Linked DNA regions of Homo sapiens: regions 2, 3, 4 and 5 are each linked to region 1. The links are contacts of gene promoters, found by promoter capture Hi-C in blood cells and fetal thymus (Javierre and others, 2016). All regions are on one chromosome and are shown on one strand. The core of a region is centred on a gene start or on the middle of the fragment in contact, and the rest is flanking DNA. Distances in the headings are between cores, read along the strand shown. Region 1 holds the start of APOH (apolipoprotein H). Region 2 overlaps PRKCA (protein kinase C alpha). Region 3 overlaps PRKCA (protein kinase C alpha). Region 4 overlaps PRKCA (protein kinase C alpha). Region 5 overlaps PRKCA (protein kinase C alpha).

Region 1 (2,742 bases), core at 92-2,591:
TTCTCATCCCTCCTCGGGACACATAGCCCGGCTTGCAGGAATACGTAATCTCTTCTCCTGGCTCATAGAATGTTTTTAACGGGACCACTGTGGAAAATGGTAAATCATCTGGCTTGGGACAGGCTGAAAGAGGGCACAAAGCAGATGGTTAACAAATCTCTATTTGCATTTTAAAGTTCAGCTAAGCCCACAAATGAAAAATGTGTGTACTGTTACCAATTATAAGCATACCAAGTTGCATGCCAAATACCTCATATACACTATCTCATCTAATCCCCTCAACAACCATTTGAAGGAGGTATTATAATTATCCCCATTTTACAGGTCAGTATGCTGAGGCTTAAATTGGCTACGTATCTTACAGAGGAGCTTTACACATGGCAATATTAAAGAATCAGTATCAATCCAGTCCCTCCAGCATCCACTCTAAAGAGAATTTAGTTATCAGCTGGGCGCAGTTGCTCACACCTGTAATCCCAGCACTTTGGGAGGCTGAGGCGGGTGGATCACGAGGTCAGGAGATAGAGACCAACCTGGCTAACACGGTGAAACCCCGTCTCTACTAAAAATACAAAAAATTAGCCGGGTGTGGTGGCGGGCGCCTGTGGTCCCAGCTACTCGGGAAGCTGAAGCAGGAGAATGGAGTGAACCCAGGAGGCGGAGCTTGCAGTGAGCCGAGATCGCACCACTGCACTTCAGCCTGGCGACAGAGCGAGACTCTGTCTCAAAAAAAAAAAAAAAGAATTTAATTATTCTTCTTCTTATTATTATTATTGTTGACTGAGTTTTGCTCTTGTTGCCCAGACTGGAGTGCAATGGGGGGACCTCGGCTCACTGCAACCTCTGCCTCCCAGGTTCAAGCAATTCTCCTGCCTCAGCCTCCCGAGTGGCTGGGATTACAGGCGCCTGCCATCACGCCCGGCTAATTTTTGTGTTTTTAGTAAAGACAGGGTTTCACTATGTTGCCCAGGCTGGGCTCGAATTCCTGACCTCAACTGATTCGCCCACCTCGGCCATGATGCCCAGCTAATTTTTGTATTTTTCATAAAGACGGGGTTTCACCATGTTGGCCAGACTGGTCTCGAACTCCTGACCTCAGGTGATCCACCTGCCTTGGCCTCCCAAAGTGCTGAGATTACAGATGTGAGCAAGCACGCCCGGCCTACTTATCATTATTGATCCCTGACATATACGAAGGGGTTGGATATATTAATTATTTTTTCAAAAGCAAAAAGTACTTACTCCGTCCTGCAATAGCAACATGGCAGAGAAAACTCGAGAACAAGATGAGCACTGGAGAAATCATTGTGGATGAGTCACACTGGCACTACCAAAGTGGTTTTCGTCTGCTAAAAAGACAGAGCCAAATATGAAAGCGCTTAAACATTAACCATTTTCTGGTGTACTTTTATCTTTGTAAATAGAAGATAAAGTATCATGATTTGAATGGAACTCTGAGACCCACATTCTTTAATCATTTACTTTCCACTTATGTGGCTCTGTTATGAAATCTTTGGGAGATGGTTTCTGTCTTCATAACGTTTTTGTTAATGGCACAAAACAGTTCATTATTGCTTTTGACAGAAACTTGTTGTTTCCGGGGTTGCCTGGACTTCTCATTCTCCATCTTTTGTTTTGTGTATGTTGTAGATGGAACACCAAAAGATCGAAGCTCCTGTTTCACTCACAGCCTTGGCATATAAACTTTGGACAAACACCTACTCTCTGTTCTCAGTCTCCACCTCTCTAAAATGATGTTCCAGTTTTCAGATGTATAATTACAAAGAATGTCTTCCAGGAGGCACTTACAACTTTAATTCCCTACAAACTGAGCTCAACATCCTCTCTTGCAAGCTCCTATAGCTCCAGTTAGGACCTTAGAGCTATCCTTGAATTCTCTATCTTCTCTTACGTCAGATCAATACAAAGTCCTCCTCATCCATTCTTAATATGTCTTGGATCTGTCTAGACAGGTTTCTAGATCTGTTTCAGGAATTTGAAAATTGATTTGAAATTAACAACTTGGGACTCGAAGAAGAAAAAAAAACTTGAGTAGGATAAGATAATGGGCCAGTGCTGATGTTGTTGCTTGAGAGGGTTCGGAAGGGGGGTTGTCTTTGATTCCCTAGTTCTCTTCTACATCATTTGCTCTAAAAAAAAAAAAAAGGATATATAAATGGACAATAGCCAGGCCATATGTGAAAACAGAACTCTGACCCACACATCTGTAGCAACAGGTCTAGAAAGCCAAACCTACAACCTCTATAGCAGTTGGCCCAACTTAAGGCCAACCAGAGAAATCCAAACATATTTCTCTAACCAATCACATGGACACCTCACTTCTAGTTAGTTTCCTTCCATCCTCCCCATACCAACAATCCGTTGGAGCACACCTGAAGCCTTTCCTTTTTTCTATTATAAAGCTTTCCCACTCCTCTGTCTGACTTTGACTTTGAGTCTCTGCCAAACACAACTGTTAATGGCTGCCTCCCTTCCTATAGCAAGCTCTGAATAAATAACCTCCGCTTGCTCTCATTTGGGTGATCTTGGTTTATATCCAGAGGTCTAAAATTCCCTGAGACACATCAGCTTGAGAAATCTCCATCTGTCAGGCAGATGATTCTTAAATTACGATCCTAATGAACATTGTGTTCCATGATAAGAAGAGTGTGCTGCCACTAATGTGAAATAACAGTGGTCCTTCCCTATTTGTCCTTCTAAGGGGAAGGAGATTCTTGTTCT
Region 2 (2,742 bases), core at 97-2,596, 480 kb after region 1:
AGTATGGGAGCTGATTAATAATGCAGAGGTTCAGAGCCCAGCCCAGCCTCTGACCCAGTCAGAATATTATTTTAACAAGGTCCCCAGGTGATTCCTGAGCCCATTAAAGTTTGAGAAATGCTGGTCAAGAAGATGAAACCTGTTGACTGATGAGTAAACAAATTCAGTCTCCTGTGGTCGTAAAGACAGCAAGGATAGACTTCATCACCCCCAGTACCCATATTAAATAGCGAAGGGATCAGTGAACTGTGACCCACACCCAACCACCTGCTTTTGTATATACAGTCTATGAGCTAAGAATGGTTTCAAGGCTGGGTGCGGTGGCTCACGCCTATAATCCCAGCACTTTGGGAGGCCGAGGCAGGCAGATCGCAAGGTCAGGAGATCGAGACCATCCTGGCTAACACGGTGAAACCCCGTCTCTACTAAAAATACAAAAAAAAAAAAAATTAGCCAGGCATGATGGCAGGCACCTGTAGTCCCAGCTGGAGGCTGAGGCAGGAGAATGGCATGAACCCGGGAGGCGGAGCTTGCAGTGAGCCGAGATCACGCCACTGCACTCCAGCCTGGGCGACAGAGTAAGGCTCTGTCTCAAAAAAAAAAAAAAGAGTGGTTTCAGGATTTTTAAGTGGTTGAAAAAAAGAAGGATATTTGCGAGACATGAAAATTTGGTGAAATCCAAAATCTGGTGCCTATAAATAGATTTTTATTAACACAACTACATTCATTCATTCGTGTGTTGTCCACAGCTGTTCCTTTGCTACCACGGCAGAGTTGAGTCCCTGCAAAAGAGACTGCATGGGCCTCAAAGCCTAAATGTATGCCCTCTGGTCCTTTACATAAAAAGTTTGTGACCTCTGGGTTAATGGAATAATAGGGTATTCAAACTGGGAGAGATGTTTAAGATTGTGTTTGTTGATGGGGAAACAAAAGCAAAAGGGAGTGTGTTCAAAGCTTGTTAGTGCAGGACCCAGACCTCCTGTGTGAGTTGATGCTTCTGTCTCATACCCTGTCCCTTCCCACACACCCTTCCCTATGACACCCCCTTTTCTGACTCCTCTCCATTCATCCACCATGCTCATTAATGCATCTCAGCCCATGCTTGTGCTCCTTGGAAAGACCCTCCCTTCTCCTCCACTTCCGTCAGTCCTAGGCTTTTCAAATCCTACAAGTCCCTTTATGTGGTTCTCTGGCCTCTTAAAATTGCCTTGACTTATGCAGTCTAAAGACTACTCACTTGCCAGACACACCTGTAAGATGTGTCACCTTCCTGATTCCAGAGTAAGAACCTCAGGCCCTCCTCTGAATACTTTGAAGTCTAAACATCAGGCCCATGAGGAGTCCACCCTTCACCTGCACTTTTTTGACAGCCCAGAGGAAGGTGTCTGAGCCAACATCTTTATGAGGCTGGTTGGAGGCCTTCAGGGGAGAGGCCATTTTAGAGCCACGAGAACCTCCCTTTCTTCCTCTAGCAGTTGTGTAAAACTCACGTGTGTGACAAATCTGGTTGCTCTTGAAGATGGACCAGTTTCTTTCCCATACATTTTATGGTTCCAGAAATCAGTAATTCTGGACATTTCTAACTGGTGGATGCTGCATCTACTCTGTGTCAAGCACTGTCCCTGGGGCTAGAGACAGAACCTTGCTCTTGGGAACATTGTGGAGTAGTACTAAGGGATATGAGACCTTGTACCTTATCTCCACTTTCTGGAAACGACCCCTGACCCTCATAGTGGAGGGAAGCTTACACCCTGTCTCCTAAACAGTAGCTAGCCTAGATCAGCGGGAGTCTGACCCAGGCCACAAGTCAGTTCTTTGTCCACGTAGCAGTATCTCCAGCTCTTGAGATGCTGAGTAAGCCTCACTGCTGAAAAGATTATGGCTCGCCTGATGTAACATGGCTTTTATAGGCAGCTAGAACCACAGAGGCCTCAGAGAATTCAAAATCACAGCTCCCTACATGGGGTCCAGGAACGTGTGGCCAAGGTGCTCATGGTGTTGTATTTTGGTTTTAGTTTGTTTTCAGGGATGAGGCCTCTTTGCCCATTAGGACTGTCGCCATGATGTACACATGATGGTGGCACTTCCCAGTTCATCAGGCCGACCAAGTGGGGCCATAGATGTCCTTGTTCAGGAATTCAGGGAACTCGGTGGCTGTCGTGTCTTCAGCACTTAATTGAAAACGAAGTGGTTAACATTTGGCACTAGTGCAGCTTCCTGCCATTTGCCACTTTCACCTTGAGCAGAGGTGTTTTGCTTCCTCATCTCCCTTCCCAGCATCCAGGTGTGTGGTCCGGGAAGGATTCCCTGGGACCTCTTGCAGATGTGTAGAGCAAGAGGTGCTGTGCGTATCTGGGCTGGGTCACTTCAGCCTTTCCTTTGATTTTTTTTTCCCAGAGAAGATTTGGGATGGTTTGTCATGTCCAAGTGTGAAACAGCCTTAGAGTTCTTTCTAGGTCCATTTGAGTCTAAGAATAACTACCCAGTGGCTGCCGGAAGGCTGTGAAGCCACATAGCAATTGTATCAAGGTGTCTCTGCTAAATGTTTTTTGTCTCCCTGTAGAAAGAAGCAGGTGACCTATTGCAGATGGCAGTTGGAGATAGGAACCTCCTAAAGTCATGCCATATACTTCTCAGGGCATCCCAGCTACTCAATACAGAGTACCCTATGCCTATAGATATCCAAGCAAAGATCAGGCAACCCTCTGAGAAAGATGTAGGAGAAATGCCTGATTAAATTTC
Region 3 (2,742 bases), core at 67-2,566, 420 kb after region 1:
CACCTTACCATGGTGTATTTGTTACAGAATGAAGGAAATGAGCCTCAGCTTTGTATGATAATCGTTCATTTTTTTTGCTTCACCCATTGATCATACATTATTGAGCGTGTGTCCTGCTCTCTTCCTGGCACCAGGGATGCTAAGATGATTAAGACCTAGACCGTGTCACAGACTGTGTGGTCTTTGGGGGAGAATTCAGGCATGAAAAAGAATTGGCGGGTGCTGTACCTGCAGTGGGAGTTTGGGAGAAGGGGAGCCTCAGTGGCCCTGGGGAGGCAGCAGGTGACAGCTTCACATCGGAAGTGCAGTGGAGCCGGGAGGACAGGGAAGGAAGAAGAGGGCATTCCAGGCAAAGATGCAGAGTGTGTTCAGGAAGCTCAGCACCATCCAGGATGTCAGGAAGTTCAAGTGAGAGTTGGAGAGAGCTGGAGGGAAGTTTGTTTCTTTCCATTTTCAAAGTATGAGAGCTGCAATCATCAGTTTACCAGTTGCACAATCCTTAGGAGCCATGCGCACAGGCTCTGAGTTAAATATTTCTTTTTAAAACAGGAAGATTTTAAGTTCCAGGTAGCTACGTTTTCAACAAGAACAGAGCATCAGTCTCCTAGCCTGAACTCTACACATCACCCTGAGATTCACAGTGAGCAGAGACCTTCTCTATCATTGCTGGGTAAGGAGACGCAGCAGGTAGCCCAACCTTTGCCTAAAAGCTTTGCACAGGTACCTTTTGCAGTGACAGGCAGGCTGTGGAATATAATAACTTGTTGGAGGCTGCCAGCAAGGAGATGCACCAAGCTCCTTATTTAAAGGAAAAGGCATTAGTTGGAAGTCATTTCTGTTCAATAAATCTTGGTTATGGGATTTGGATCCAGATCAGGAACGTAGATGGTGATGCAGCAGATGTATCTGCTCCTTTGGTTTGGGATGGAGAGGGAGAGGGTGCTGGCAAGAAGCTGCTTATCCTCAGGGGCACCCAGAGTGTCCACTGTTGGTGATCCTGCATTTGACCACCTGGTTCAGCGTTCTCAGCAGATCCCTCCAACTGCAAAGGTATTTTTGTTGTTGTTGTTGTTTGTAATTAATAAGGAATCTGGATGTCATACTTGATGAACAGCAACCTCCCACCTAATGGTTTTAACCTTGATTATTTTATTTTTTATTTATTTGTTTATTTATTTTTTTGAGACACAGTCTCACTCTGTCACCCAGCCTGGAGTGCAATGGTGCAATCTTGGCTCATTGCAACCTCCGCCTCCTGGATTCAAGCGATTCTCCTGCCTCAGCCTCTCGAGTAGTTGGGATTATAGGTGTGTGCCACCATGCCCGGCTAATTTTTGTTTTTTTGGTAGAGACAAGGTTCCACCATGTTAGCTAGGCTGATCTCGAACTCCTGACTTGAGGTGATCCACCTGCCTTGACCTCCCAAAGTGTTGGGATTACAGGCGTGAGCCACCGTGCCTGGCCAACCATTCTTGATTAAAAGAGAATGAGGAGACATGATTACCAAATGCAATCTGTAACACTTGGTTGGATCCTGGATCCAAGAAAAAAACAGCTGTAAAGAACATTTTGGGGACAGTGGGGACAGTTGAATCTGGACTGTATTTTAGAGAATGTTTTTGTACCAGTGTGACATTTCTGGGTGGTAATGGTCATGTGATTTTGGAGGGGAATGCTGAAATATTTTAGGGGTCATTTTTTCCTAATGTCTACAACCTACTTCCAAATGGTTCAACAAAAGCAAAAAAACAGACAGAAATCTGAAAATAGGACCAGGCGGGGGTTGGGGCCAAGAAGAGAGCGTGTGTGCAGGCAAGAGCACCTGTGGCGGAATAATAGTGACTCTAGAAAGTGATATAGGTGTTCACTGTACTGTTCTTTCAACTTCACTCCCAAAAACTTGGGCAATGATATCTATGTCTGAAGCTTTGTTTCAGTTGATCGTATTTAAATGTACTCTGTAGAGGTCATTCTTGGCTAGAAGGAAGCCCCTGCTGAAGCAGCCATCAGAGCGCCTCAGCAGTTAAGCTTCCCTGCCTCCACCCTCTTACTCTATGACCCTCCCCTGCCTCTGTCCATGGCCACCAACGCCTTTCCTTTTGTGGATGGCAGACCAAAGGAGACAATTATTCTGCCTCAACCCAACGCTGTGTTTCCTTGTGGTTCTGCACTGAGGCTGGGCCCAGAAGCCTGGTTCATGAAGAGCACTCACCTGGCCCCTGGCCCCTGGCCCCCGTTAAACAGGTGAGTCACTGACCATTTCCTTAGAGCCACCTGGGACTGGCTGCATGGGACTTGCCATGACACAGCCGGCCAGACTGCCACAGGCAGGTTCTGGGAACTGTACACTTACATGGATGGGCAGGGGCTGCCTGGGATTGGGAGCCACTAGTGGTCTATGTCCCCAAGAGCTTGTATATGACCCCCATTTTCCAAATAGCTCAGGCAGAAAAGAAAATGTGAGTTAAACAGCTAAAGGAGTCATATGTAGGTATGTGTACATATGTGTAAGAAGTAGGCTGGACATGGTGACTCATTCCTGTAGTCCCAGCTACTCAGGAAGCTGAGGCAGGAGGATCTCTTGAGCCCAGGAGTTTGAGACAAGTCTGGGCAACAGGGCAAGACCTCGTCTACACAAAAAGAAAAAATAACCAGATGTGGTGGTGTGCACTTGTAGTCCCAGCTACTCAGGAGGCTGAGGCAGAAGGATCGCTTGAACCCAGGAGTTCGAGGTAACAGGGA
Region 4 (2,742 bases), core at 112-2,611, 400 kb after region 1:
CAAGCTTTCAAAGTTTGAAGTCCTAACCCATCCTGTGGCTCTTTACCAAATAATATAAAATGGCAGTAGATACTAAGCTTTCTGAGGGCCATTGTAGATTGTGTTATTATTTAAAATATTTGCTGTCCCCTTCTGGGGAGGTTATTACACCCGGCCCTGTTGACTTCCAGATTGGCCATGTGCCTTGCTTTGGCCAGTGACATGCAAACAGAAATGATGACACCATTTCCAAGCAGGAGATATATGAGCCGTTGAGTACTCTGCCATTTCTTTTTTTCCTCTGCTGTGAGATTGCATATGTCCTAGATAGTGACTGCTAAAGTCCCTAAGTGAAAAGTGAGATAAATTTTTGTTGTGGAAAGCCACTGAAAGTTAGAAGTGATTTGTTAGCAGTATAATCTAGTCTCTTCATTCCAAGTTAGATAGGACCTGAGCCTCACCTGGAGTCTTCACATGGTGGGCACACCACCTGGCACATAGTAGGTGTACGGTAAATAATTTTTTTTAGGCAAAATGAAGAAATTGATAGGTACCTAGGAAATAACCTTATTTATAAATGAGTTATGTTTAGGGTTTGTGATTTGAATACTTACACATTTTAAACATCTTATTTTTATTACTGTTACTTTAGAGACAGGGTCTCACTATGTTGCCCAGGCTGAAGTGCAGTGGCTATTCACAGGCATGATCATGGCGCATTACAGCCTCGAACACCTGGGCTTAAGCAATCCTCCTGCCTCAGCCTCCCAAATAGCTGGGACCACAAGCATGCGCCACTGCACCTAGCTTATCTTTTTTTAATATCAGAATTCCATATTAAACCATCAGAGGTTTTTGAAATTTAAAAGTTGTGCAGGGTGACTATAATCAATAATAACTACACATTTTAAAATAACTTAAGGAGCATAATTGGATTGTAACTCAATGGATAAATGTCTGAGGGGATGGATACTCCATTCTCCATGATGTGCTTATTTCACATTGCATGCCTGTATCAAAACATGACATGTACCCCGTAAATATATACACCTATGTACTCACAAAAGTTAAAAATAAATTTGTTTAAAGTTGATTGATGATGGAGCAAAAACTGGACATAAAACAATGTCTTGAGATGTTAATGAATAAGATATATTATGAAATAGGAAGATGGTCTTAATAATAGCTTTTCATTAAGAGTTGTATTGGTGGCTTGTGGTGTTAAATATCTTCATAGTGCCTTCATATAGACACCTTCTTCTGCAGATTGGTAGAGAAACTGCCAACAAAGCCCCTGTGTAGTGAGATGAGGTGGTTGCGCCCCAGTTCCTCCAGCATGCTAGGCTTTTCCCCCAATGGTGTCTCATGAAGCAGCCGGAATATAGCCAGTGTATTCAGCTGGACTTCGTGGTAATTTGGGTTACATAGATAATGTATGGATTTATTTTTTAACTTAAATCTTTTCAGATAATGTTAAAAGTCTCATTTTACTTTCATGTCTGAACCTAATCTGTCCCCACACTTTCCCAGAGTCATTTACTTATTTATCAATCTAGAAAAAAACTGTCTTACTGTTCAGAGGAGGGGGCTTTTTGTTTTTTGTTTGTTTGTTTTTTGTTTTTTGAGACGGGGTCTTGCTCTGTTACCCAGGCTGGAGTGCAGTGGCATGGTCAGGGCTTACTGCAAACTTGACCTCCTGGGCTCAAGCAGTCCTCCCACCTCAGCCTCCTGAGTAGCTGGGACTAAAGGCATAGGCCACCACCCCCAGCTAATTTTTTTTTTTTAAGTAGAGATGAGGTCTCGTTATGTTGCCCCAGCTAGTCTTGAACTCCTGAGCTCAAACGATCCTCCCAAAGTGCTTGTTTCTGTTTTTTACATAAAAGTCATTATATTTTATGTCTTGTGTTGTGGCTTGCTGTTTTCATTAGACAATATATCTTAGAGATCTGTCCATGATTTTACAGAAAGATCTAGCTCATTTGATTTAACTGCCATGGAGTATTCCATAGTATAAATATATTACAGTTTATTTAGCCATTGCCTTGCTGATACAGATCTATCTAGAATTTTTAAAATAATTTATTGCTTCCCATTGAATGATTACAGCATCTTGCATAGCTGGGCAAAGGACTCATAAGAAACCTACTAGCAAAACCTGGTTTGACAGGTTCATCCAACTGTATAGATGAGTGTTATTCACCAGAATAAACTGAAGTGTTACATTGCAGATCAGAAATTAATGAGCATCACCAAAAACGGAATTTCTTTCGTTCTTTCTTAGAAAAGGAAACATCCAACAAGATCAGTATGGTCAGAGGCCAAGTGCGATCCTAAGCCCAAATGGAGAGTGGGCCAGGCAGACCCAGCCGCCTGAGAAGGGGCATGGCAGCTTTACTGAGTACATGATACACAATGTAATAATTACAGTGGTCCCCAAGTTACATGCAACCACCCTGATCATATGACTTGGTTTTGGTAATCCTCTCATGTTAACCAAAAAAATTTTAAATAGGTCTTTTTTTATATCATAGGGTTAAAAAAAAAACTGCTTCCTACTTCCCTAAATTTCTTAAGAAATTTAAGATCGCAGTAATGTTGCTAGATTTGCCCTTGAAGCAGTGTTTTGGGTGTTTCTCATATAGTCAGCATGTGGGTGACATTTAGACCCAAGCTTGGCTTACAAGCATGATTCATGAGAACACATCAGATGGTGACAGCAGAGAATTTCCCTTGGTACTTAGAGGGGAGCAGCTTCAAGGAGGC
Region 5 (2,742 bases), core at 159-2,658, 360 kb after region 1:
GCCTCTTCCCACTCCTGGTGGCTTCTGTTGTTCCTCACCCTGTGACTGCATTACTCCATTCTCTGCCAATGTCTTCACACGGCCTTCTTCCCTTTGGCTCTGTCAAATCCCCTTCGTCTTTCTGAGGACACCAGTCATTGGACTTGAGGCCTACCCTAAATCCAGGATGATCTTATCTCGAGGTCTTTATTTAATTACACCTGCAAAAACCTTACTTCTACATGAAGTGGCATTGTTCGTCTGGGTTAATACCTGAGGTTCATTGCCTCATGCCAAGGAAATCAAGGACACTGACACACAAGGAGTGAGTTTAAGAGCAGGAGTTTAATAGGCAAGAGAAAGAGGAAAGCTCTCTCTCTCCTTCAGAGAGAGAGGGGCTCCTGAGTGAGTCTTCCAGTTCCATGGTGAAATGCATGGGGAGGGGGGGGTGGTGGTTAATAGATGAGCGTGGAGAGGCGGTGTCTGATTTACATAGGGCCCAAATGATTGGTTAGATAGGTGTGCCATTTACATAGTGTAGGAAGAAGATGGCTGCCCCACCCTAATCTTTTGTTAGGCAGGTGGGTTCTCTACCTGGCCAGCGCCATGTTGCCTGCTTCTTTATTGCACACCTGGTTGACAGAAGGGAAGATGGACCCTCCATGTTGAACACGCCTGACCCCCAGGTAGCCATTTCCTATCCGCAGAGCTGCCGGCATTCACCCGTGCAAGCTTCCAGCTTGCTTATCTATGTCTGCAGCTCGATTTTACAGGCTGCTCTGCTAGAAAAGAAATGATCTGGGGGCTGCTTTTTGTTAAAACAGAAACCTTGCTGAGGACTCTCTTACCCTCGCTAACTGCCTAAATAATTTCTTTCTAGTTCCTGTAGCACAAATAAGATTACATTCTCAGGTATTGGGGATTAAGACTTGGGACCACTCCTTAAGCCACTGTAGCTGACCTCACAGATGTCTCAGCTGACCACCAGGCAGGTGTTTCCACCCAAGGACGCACTTCCCCATTCCCCATGGCACCAGCAATGTGGAGTGGGGAGCCGCGGAGCAGGGAGCCAGCAGCTTAAGTTTGAAATCCAGCTCACTGTTCTTGAGACTGGAACCTGGAGGGCATTATTAAATGTCTCCCAGCCTTGGTTCCTGTCTTGTGTAAAGTGAAGGTGACGGTGTCTACCCCTCTGGGTCACAAGAAGCATGTGGGAGAATATGGGAAAGTAGCTGACAGGGTGCACAAGTTACAGCAGGAACTCAATATGTGTCCTTGAGTCTGAATGCAGTCATTTAGGGTCCTCAGTATTAACTGCCTTGCTCTCAGGTGGATGATGTTTGAGGATTAACAAATCTGTTGGGTGAATCCAGATAAATGGGGAGTTGACCTTTCTGGATGACACAGGTTGTTGACCATGGTTTAACATATTCAATAAGTTAATATAAAGAGTCTTGGCAGTGCCTGGTGCGGCAAAGGGACCTATATCTGTGGTTGTCATTGTCGTTGCTATGGTTGCCATTGCTATGGCACCATAACCTTGTTGATCTGAACCAGTAGAGATGAGGCTTTGAGGTGGCCCCTGGAGATCACAGCTGAGGAGCCCTAAGCCCACCCCCAGAAATGTTGTGAAAGTGGCTGCCTTCTTTCCTTTACCTAACTTGTGACATCCTTCAGCCCAGGACTCAGTACACAGTGGGCCCTCAAAAAATAGGATTAACTATTAACTGAAAGATCTTATTCCAGGTGTTCAGGGAATCAGCAGAATTAGCGTGACTTTCTGCTAATAATATCTTCAACTGATGTGATAAGAGTAGAGTTCTACCAGTGGCCACTGCAAAAGACACAGAGCATGCAAAATCCTCTCTCCTTTTATCAGAAGGAAGAGCTTCTCCATCCTTTCAACCTTGGACCAGTAATTGGTCCCTTTAGGAGTTAGTTTAAGAAAAGCTATGCATGCCTTAGCCAGCCTGAAGTCAGACCCTTAATGGGAAGCTGGTGCTTTATTGATGCTCAGTAACAGAACACTGCTTTGAGCTCAAAATAACTTCTACTAAGCTCCTTCAACAGCTTGCTCCCTAGGTGGCTCAGTGTTTTGCTGCTGTCTGAAGTTGTATATACTCCAGTGAAGCTTGAGTTTCTTCATGGTCATCATCCACTATCACCAGTTAATATGGGCTGAATATCCATAACATGTCAGACTCAGTCGGGATACATAAAGAAGACCCTGTACCTGCACTGGGGTTGTGGGTCTGAGGGCCATTAGAACTCTAGATGGCTGCACAGACACAGGTGAGGCTGTGGAGCAAAGGCAGAGTTGGTGGTGAAGGGCCTATTTTTAACTTTTATTGCCGCCATGTTGCTCCTACGATGCCATTATGAATGGTCTCTGTGAGTCCAGGCAGTGGTTAGTGTCTACTCAGAAACCTCACAATGTCTGTCCTCCTGGGATAGAATATGAACAGAATCCAGGTCTGGGGCCATGGATGTTGAACGTGATAGTATGTTTCCTGGTATCACTAAGGTCTGATCTCTTCCCGTTTTCCTACAGTTCTATGAACATTTCTTTCTAACACAATGTTTTCTTAGGGCTAATTTTAAGTTATTTTTTGGGGACTATCATCCCTTATATCCTTCTCCTTCCAAGGTATCCCAAAGTTGATGTGCAGTGTTACTGTACACTTTTTCAGCATGTGCAAATCTGTCTAGCTTATAATCTAGCATCATTTTGTGTTGTTTTACATTTTATATAAATTGTATTAC

Evidence for each region. The method cuts DNA at HindIII sites, captures the fragments that hold promoters and counts their contacts. A CHiCAGO score of 5 or more calls a contact.
Region 2: a contact is called between a fragment that was not itself captured here and the fragment with the promoter of APOH in region 1, in 4 of 17 cell types (activated CD4 T cells, M1 macrophages, non-activated CD4 T cells and 1 more). The highest score is 7.4, in activated CD4 T cells.
Region 3: a fragment that was not itself captured here is called in contact with the fragment with the promoter of APOH in region 1 in 1 of 17 cell types (megakaryocytes); the score reaches 5.1 in megakaryocytes.
Region 4: a contact is called between a fragment that was not itself captured here and the fragment with the promoter of APOH in region 1, in 4 of 17 cell types (endothelial precursors, M0 macrophages, activated CD4 T cells and 1 more). The highest score is 7.1, in endothelial precursors.
Region 5: a fragment that was not itself captured here is called in contact with the fragment with the promoter of APOH in region 1 in 3 of 17 cell types (monocytes, activated CD4 T cells and megakaryocytes); the score reaches 6.0 in monocytes.

Annotation. Positions count from the first base shown.
Region 1 is chr17:66,228,074-66,230,815 of GRCh38, forward strand. APOH (apolipoprotein H) reads right to left here and starts at 1,342. Exons shown (of 8, transcript NM_000042.3): 1 at 1,243-1,342; 2 at 1-123. The coding sequence starts at 1,306. The HindIII fragment of the contact is 12,618 bases long and covers 1-2,421 here.
Region 2 is chr17:66,706,045-66,708,786 of GRCh38, forward strand. The region is part of intron 8 of PRKCA (protein kinase C alpha); the gene reads left to right. Among named protein-coding and RNA genes, the nearest start is that of MIR634, 80 kb to the right of the region's middle. The HindIII fragment of the contact is 789 bases long and covers 953-1,741 here.
Region 3 is chr17:66,650,795-66,653,536 of GRCh38, forward strand. All of the region lies in intron 5 of PRKCA (protein kinase C alpha), which reads left to right. Among named protein-coding and RNA genes, the nearest start is that of MIR634, 130 kb to the right of the region's middle. The HindIII fragment of the contact is 1,216 bases long and covers 709-1,924 here.
Region 4 is chr17:66,630,796-66,633,537 of GRCh38, forward strand. All of the region lies in intron 3 of PRKCA (protein kinase C alpha), which reads left to right. Among named protein-coding and RNA genes, the nearest start is that of MIR634, 150 kb to the right of the region's middle. The HindIII fragment of the contact is 2,573 bases long and covers 76-2,648 here.
Region 5 is chr17:66,584,647-66,587,388 of GRCh38, forward strand. The region is part of intron 3 of PRKCA (protein kinase C alpha); the gene reads left to right. Among named protein-coding and RNA genes, the nearest start is that of PRKCA-AS1, 170 kb to the left of the region's middle. The HindIII fragment of the contact is 1,399 bases long and covers 710-2,108 here.